Regions from separate parts of the Homo sapiens genome. Here region 1 is linked to region 2. Evidence: promoter capture Hi-C in human tissues and cell types (Jung and others, 2019). All regions are on one chromosome and are shown on one strand. Each heading gives the region's core, a stretch centred on a gene start or on the middle of the fragment in contact. The rest is flanking DNA. Distances are from core to core; before and after follow the strand shown.

The links. Contacts are between HindIII fragments. The study calls those that stand out against the background at their distance.
Region 1: a contact is called between a fragment that was not itself captured here and the fragment with the promoter of TAF1A in region 2, in 1 of the 25 tissues and cell types used here (mesenchymal stem cells).

Annotation. Positions count from the first base shown.
Region 1 is chr1:221,445,380-221,449,192 of GRCh38, forward strand. All of the region lies in intron 3 of LOC105372932 (a long non-coding RNA gene), which reads left to right. Among named protein-coding and RNA genes, the nearest start is that of LINC02817, 110 kb to the left of the region's middle. The HindIII fragment of the contact is 3,254 bases long and covers 839-3,813 here.
Region 2 is chr1:222,587,900-222,591,974 of GRCh38, forward strand. It overlaps TAF1A (TATA-box binding protein associated factor, RNA polymerase I subunit A), which reads right to left and starts at 2,034. Exons shown (of 11, transcript NM_005681.4): 1 at 1,828-2,034; 2 at 544-666. The coding sequence starts at 664. TAF1A-AS1 (TAF1A antisense RNA 1) reads left to right here and starts at 2,021. Exons shown (of 3, transcript NR_110613.1): 1 at 2,021-2,063; 2 at 2,359-2,508. RefSeq lists enhancers at 2,001-2,534, 2,535-3,067. The HindIII fragment of the contact is 5,175 bases long and covers 540-4,075 here.

The DNA of each region.
Region 1 (3,813 bases), core at 1,216-3,715, 1.1 Mb before region 2:
TGCTTATTCATTTTTGTATTGTCATAGACAATACAATGGCAGCATTGAATAGTTGTGGCAGAGATGGTTTGGCCTGTAAAGCTTAAAATATATGCTATCTGATTTTTTTAAAAGAAGTTTTCTGATCCCTGAATTCTACCAATGAAGGAATAAGGAATACCAACTCCACACAATTCTTCTAGAAAACAGAAGAGAACACTTTTCAACTTCATTTTATGTAGCTACCAAAATATACACATGACATATACAGTCTTGTCCCTTGATATCCATGAGGGATTGGTTCCAGGACCCCCGTGGATAACAAAATCCAAGGACAGTCAAGTCTCTGACATAAAATGGCATAGCACTTGTATGTAACCTATGCACATCCTCCTGTATACTTTAAATCATGTCTATATTACTTATAATACCTAATACAATGTAACTGCTACTTAACTGTTATACTGTATTTCTATGTGTACTATTTTTTACTGTTTTATTGCTATTTTTCCAGATATATTTGATCCATGGTTTGTTGATTCTGCAGATGCGGAATCCTGAGATACAAAAAGCCAATCATACACTGGAAACTATAGATCATGGCAAAGAGAAATTAGAAGACCCAAACAAATGAGTCCTCATGAATTGAAGGACTCAATATTATCAAAATGTCTATTCTGCTCAAACTGATCTATAGATTCAATGCAATCACAATCAGAATCCCAGAAAGAGGTGTTTTTGCTTATTTGTTTGTTTTCTGTTTTGGTAGAATTGCTAAGCTGATTTAAGAATTTATAAGGAAGTACAAAGGACCCAAAATGACCAAAATAGTTTTTGTTTGTTTGTTTGTTTTAATGAGATAGGGTCTCACTATCTTGGCCAGGTTGGTCTTGAAGTCTTGGCCACAAGCAATCCTCCCACCTCAGTCTCCCCAAAGTGCTAGGATTACAGGCATGAGCTAGTGTGTCCAGTCACAAAATGACCAAAATAGTTTTAAAAAAGAAACAAAGTTGGAGTTCTTATGTCATAGGATTTCAAGTTTTATTATAAAGCTATAATAATCATGACAATATGGTTAAGACATAAGGATAGAGCTGTAGATCAGTAAAACAGAATAGAGAGTCATAAAATAGTAACTCACATATTTGAACAATTGTTTTTCAACAAAGAAACCAAAGTAACTTAATGGAGAATAAAGAAAGGATAATGTTTTGAAAACTGGCGCTGGAACAACTAGATATCCATATTTTAAATAGGAGGAAGGAAGGAAGGAAGGAAGGGAGAGAGGGAAGGAAATAGCAAATAATTTGTATTCTTTCCCTCCCTTTCTCTCCCTCCCTCTATGGGTACAAGAGAAAACATCTCTTCAGAATGCTATTTTGGGTGATGAATAGGTTATATGTTAGGAGAGAAGGGTTCTAACCACAGAGTAGGTGGGCATTGACTGAAGGACTAAAGAGTTTTATTCTTAGTATAAAGGCAATAGGACACGTTGTAAAATATTGAGTGGAAATGTGATATAACTGGAAGGGCATTTTAGAGAGCATTTTAAAATTGAAATGTGTAGGAAGGATTTAAATACTAAGAGATTAAAGTCATGGAGAGCAGTAAGGAAGCTTTTACTAATTTGAAGCATGAACACAGACGAGCTAGGACAGGGTGCTATTTTTGGGCATGTTCCCTTCCTTCCCTGTAAGGGGCAGACAAATCTTGGGAAGAACCAAATAACACATATGAAATGAAGAGGGCCATTTCCTGACAAAATAGATCAGGTATGAAAGGAGCTCCAGGGAGAAGAATATCAACAAAGAATAAAATAATTGAGGAAGACTTCGTGGAGGCAGTCAGATTTAATTTGTGCCTTGAAGCAGGGTGGAATTGAGATGCATGAACTTGTATAATTGCACGAAGAAGGGAGAGCACTAGACAAACAAAGAAAGTAAATGTAGTATTGTAACTTTGGTTTGATTATATTTTAAGGGAAGTAATTTAGGCAAAATAATGGTTTCCCCAAAGATTTCTCCATACTAATGTTAGGACCTGTGAATATCTCACCTTACATGCAAAAGGAACTTTGCAGTTGTGATTAAGGTTGAGGACTTTGAGATGGGGATATTACCCTTGATTATTTTAGTGAATCCAACCTAATCACATGAGTCCTTACAGTTCTAGAAGGTTAGAAGTCCAACACATGTTTCACTCCTTAATAATACACTTGTGGCTGTTAGCATCCAAAGACATCCCCTGACAATTCCTCTTTTTTAAATTTATTTATTTTTTGCATGTATTTGCCTTTGAATTCTGGGCCAAACTTGTAACTTCCTTTGGTCAACAGAATGCGGCAGAAATAATATTCTGAAACTTCTGAATTGAAATCTTAAAAGGATGATCAATGTCTACTTCCTGCCTTGTAGAATCTGGGTGGCATGCTGTGAGGAGACACAGGTAGCCCTTGGAGAGGCCCACATGTAGAAGAACTGAGGCCCTAGGCCAATAGCCAAAGTTAAGCTTCCCATTCAACACCCAGCGTCAATTGTCAGCTATGTGAGTGACTTTCCAGCCACCGTCGCATAACGGCACATTATGCAGTTATAGGCAGTCAAACCAGAATTACTCTTAAAATGTTCCTTTCTCATTCTTTTAAAAACATTTCATATTTTCTTCCAGAAGCATATGTTTTCTAAATTGTAAGCATTTTAATGGCAAGGACTCTATCTTGTTTAAGTTAATATTTCAAGATTTAGCCCATGACTGGCACATAAAAGCTACTCAAAACTATTAAAAGAATGAAGAGTGAATGAATGAGTGTTTAACCTATAATCGGAAGGAAAAAAATACAGTGTATTAAAAATAAAAATATAATAATTAAAATAAAGTGCTCAGTTAAGCTTGGAATCAGAATTTTTCACTTGGGGATTTTATCCAAACCCAACCCACAATATTGCCATTAAAACTAAGAAATACACACCACTTCATCCTAATCCTAGCATGCACTAGTAACGTGTCTTATTTCCCATTCCCAAGGCAACTCAGTTCTTGGGTCATTCTGTATATTCATGTGTGTCCTGTTCAGCAGTTCTAAGTATACTCAACAAAGCATGATACAAAGAGTAGCTCAAATGATTATGCTTGTTGGTTGGTTTTTTTATCCGAACAAAAGTGGCTTGTCTTCAGACATTTTTTGGAAATAAAATGCTCTGCTCCAATTGTTGGAAATAATATTTGTCCATAGGTTTCAAACAGGAATCTCAGAAGTTTTTAATTATTGTGTATTATTTCTTCTTTATAATGCCCTGAGCTCACAAGAAAAAAAAAAAAAGGGGGTCTGCCACTGTGGTTGGCATGCCAATGAAGCCTGTTGTGAACTCTCGAGTATAATATAAACCTCTGCCGAACACATAAAATTCTTGGCTTCCGAGAGGAGTCTTGTAGAAAGAGTGCTGTGTTTGCTTCCAGCATAGTTATTCTATTCAGAGCTCTAATCCCAAGTCACTTTTAAAAGACCAAGTCCAAAGAAAGTTGACACAGTTCACATTTTTTAAATTAAAGAACAATTTCTACTCTTTTTATAGTTGACAAGAGTATTGTAGTGTTGTCTTATTAGTAGTGAATAATTCTAGAATACATAAATAGTTCACTTTATAAAAATCTTTTAGGTGACGCGGCCAGATCGGGATGAAAATCCAAAGACTGGAAACAACTGAACTTGAAATTAGCTGCCAAATGACCCAGATGGGGAGAATCGAATATCAAATTTTTTTTTGAAGTTTGAGAAAAGTATCAGGATGGTCACTCAGGCTTAAAGAAATAAAAGCAGCAGGGTCTAGGCTGGCG
Region 2 (4,075 bases), core at 784-3,283:
AAACTAGCCAGGCGTGGTGGCTGGTACCTGTAATCTCAGTTACTCGGGAGGCTGAGTAGAATCACTTGAACCTGGGAGACAGAGGTTGCAGTGAGCCAAGATCTAGCCACTGCACTCCAGCGTGGGCAACAGAGCAAGACTCTGTCTCAAAAAAAAAAAAAATCTATTACACGATCAATTCTATTCGAAATAATTTCAATGCAATTCAACAGCAACTTCTTGAACACTTCCTAGGCATGTTTTCCTCAATGGCAGAGACCATATCTTCACCTATGACTCCCCAATATTTAATCAATGCCAGAGATAAAAGTGCTCAGTAAGTATTACTGGAAAAAATGTGTATCTAGCATAATACAGACTATCTATTATTAATCCAAGGGCAAAGAATTCTAAAAGAAAAAAGATTTCTTTTGGCTTTTAGCCAAAAAACCCTCCACATATTCCTCTTGAAAATTAAACCAGTCTGGTTATTCATTTTGTATCCCTATTGAATCTTACCACCTCCTTAAAGTTAAAATGGCTCAATGTTATTATTTTACTTACCCACAGTTTCTACGTATGTTTGAAGCCAAGGAAAATGCATTCCTGCACCACTGAGCACAGATGTTTCCACTTCTTCATCATCTGTCACAGGCCCTTTTAATTCTTCACTGAAATCACTCATACCTATTACAAGATGAGATATCAGTTACTTTCTGTACATCTTAATCCACAGTCTTCTGAGTTGTACAGAAAAACGGCTATCTTTTTATCTAATAAATATAATTTGATTAGCAAAATGCATTATACCTGTCAGCTCTTTTAAAGTAAAAAATGAATTTAACTATGTCAGCAACAGCCAAAATGAATGATCCATTAAAGACCGAACCACTAATGTTTCAAGTCCATGTAAAGATAAATAAGATACTGCCCCTCTAATTTAAAAAATCTCAAGTCTAGACGAAGAAACAGCAAAACGTATAATAACAAAACAATATGAAAAGTACAGTAAGAATAGAAGTAGCAGCTAATATTTATTAGGCCCTTACTATGCACTAGAAGTATAAATTATCTAATTTAATCCCCACAGCAATCCTGAGGTGGGTACTATTACTTTCTTCCATGTGAAGGTTGAAAAAACTGAGGGGCTTAGTGAAATGATGGAACCTGCCTAACATCACAAAAAATGGTGAGGACGATAGTCTAGGAAATAGAACACCAAACTACTTGGCATGACTAGAATTCGAGGTGCGTGTGGAGGAGGGGTGCGGAAGGTGAGAAACGAACCTAGAAAAATCATCATAAGCCAAGGTGAGTTTAGACTTACTCCTAAAGATGCTCAGGGCCCCTTCCTCATTACCCATATGAAATCGAGTATTAGTGCCCCTGATACTACCTCCAAATTTCCCCTATTTCCCCTCTTCAATCCTACAGCACTACTCTAGTTCAAGACCCCTTCAAACAGTGCCTAGATTACCGCATCAGCTTTCTAAACAATTACCCTGGCTCAGATTTTGCATCTCTGCATTATACCCAGAGTAAACCTTCTAAATTCAAAGCATGTGGCTAGGAGTATGAATTATAAGTAACAACTGAATTTGAATCCGACCCATCACGTGTTTTCAGGAGTAGTTACACAAATCCTCCCTTTCCAAATCCTCAAAAACCCAAATTGGTGACCCGCAGTTGCCACGGCAACCAAAGCTTCTCTATCCCCTTCTTTCGTTTTCAGACCCCAAGGGTTTCAGGTATTAGGAGGAAATATCAGGAGAACATGGATGAATCCTGACACACCCCTTCCCGTTCCATTTAAACGCAGGAACCACGGGCGATATCTGCGGCACTTACCCGCCTAAATTTAGAGCTCCTCAGTAAAGCTAAACTCAGTCTCCGACTCCGGCCCACGTGAAGAAATTCCCACCGGAAGACGAGTTAGGAGAGCTTTATATGAGCAGGCGCTAAACCTGGTTTAGGTATTTAGGCAGCGCGCGGCCCGGCTCGTAACTCCTCCTGCTGCAGCAGGCGTATCGTTGGCCTCGCCTCGACCCCGGAAGTGACTTCTGGAAGTGACCCAGGAAGTGACAGTGAGCTGCCTCTCTGCGATTGGTTTTGCCCGAGTTTTATTTTTGTCTGTCTCAGCTAGAAAGTGGGAGACTTTCATTTAAAATGGAAATTGGGGCGAGGGGTTGGCGGCTGGGCGAAGGGAGCATTCAAAAGCGGAGAATGTCACTTTACCCGAGAAATTCACTACGATGGGCCATTGGTTTCTGCTCGGCTCGCAGGCGCACTGCACGAGTGGAGGTGTGGCTAGTGGCTGTGATGAGATAAATCCATGCATAGCCTTTTCATTGCGAGCTTGAAAGTTCTTTTCTATTACAGTTTTAGCTTTAGGTTTAATTGGTTCGACTGCCTTCTCCACAATTTGGGCGAGAATTTCCTTTGCCTTCTCAGCAAAAGTTGTTCTGCGGACCCGTCTGGGTCAACTTTCATGAGGGACATTGAGACAAACAAATGAAATATGGGTTAAAGGTAAGATGGTTAAACCGTGTGAAATGAGAGACAGTTGAGGGGTTCTAGGGAAGATGATCCCGGAAAAGGACTGCAGGCCCATGGAAACGCAGTGTGCTTCTCCAATATTTGGAGGGCTGATCAGTGAAAGAAGGATCAGACCCTTTTTCTTAGCAGCAGAGAACAGAACTAGGACTAATAAGTGAAAGGTAAAGGGAGGCTGCTTTCAAGTCACAGCAAGAAAGAATTTTGTCCACAAATGAGGATGCACAAATATAGCATAGGCTCCCCCAGGAATCACTGAGTTTCCTCTGTGTAGGTGAACAGTTTGAGTAGAATCGGAGTATCGGAGAGGAAATTAAAGGGTCTGGTAAGAGTTTGAGGCCGGGCGCGGTGGCTCATGCCTGTAATCCCAGCCCTTTGGGAGGCCGAGGCAGGCGGAAAGTTTGAGCTCAGGAGTTCGAAACCAGCCTAGTCAACATGATGAAACCCCGTCCCTACAAAATAAAAATAAAAAAAAATAAGCTGGGGTGATGATGCATGCCTCTAGTCCCAGCTACTCGGGAGGATGAGGTGGGAGGATCACCTGAGCCCAGGGAGGTCGAGGCTGCAGTGAGCTGTGATCACCCTACTGCACTCCAGCCTGGGCGACAGAATGAGACCCTGTCAAAAAAAATTTTGTACATGGATTCCTTAAAATGCTACAAATAGTTGATTCTATGTTGTCTTCTGCATAAAACAATATGCAGTAGTTAAGGACTTGCAAGAAAAGTTCCTTCTGCTGCTCTCTCTGTCATTAGTTCTTGAGTCCTCACTCAAGCTTGTGCTCTAACTCTACAGGCAGGGCTAACATAAATTATGCGTAGTCCAGGAGACCACACACAAAATAACATACATAATCATTACTTTCTTGTCTAGAGGCTTAGTCTGGCTACTTTTCTCCCATTGGCTTGAGGTGTAAATTCACCAAAACCAGCCCAGAAATGATTTTACATGGAAAAAAGTTTATGTTCTCCCGAAAATGAGGAAGAGCTTTCAGATTTTCCTCGAAGTTCTCAAACAGCTCTAAGGAGCAGTAGGAAACGTGCCCTACCTATGCTTTTTCTTTCCCATGCTGCAATTCTGACAGAAAATGTGTTGGAGAGAAGAGATAAAAAAAATCAACTAGATCACATCCAATAGCATAAACAAGAAGGAAGGAGGGAAGGTTGCCGTGGCAGGCATCTGTAGTCCCAGCTACTCCAGAGGCTGAGGCAGGAAGATCGCTGAGCTCAAAAGTTCAATTCCATCCTGGGCAACATAGCAAGACCATGTCTCAAAAAAAAAAAAAAAAAAGGCATGACAAATATGAAAACATAAAGCATGCAAAGACTTTTCTAGATTTCAATCTATAAGAAAACATGTCCTAAGAAAAACATGTTCTTACAATTACTTTGTGCTACAGAGCAACTTAATATGGTGATGAATTATGTTGTTTTTAAAGTTGCAAACTGTCATTTAAGGAATATTATTTCCATGAACGCTTCCTGTGCAATCTATTAAAGAACAAACTTCACATAGCCAAACAGTTGAAGAGACCTCATCATAA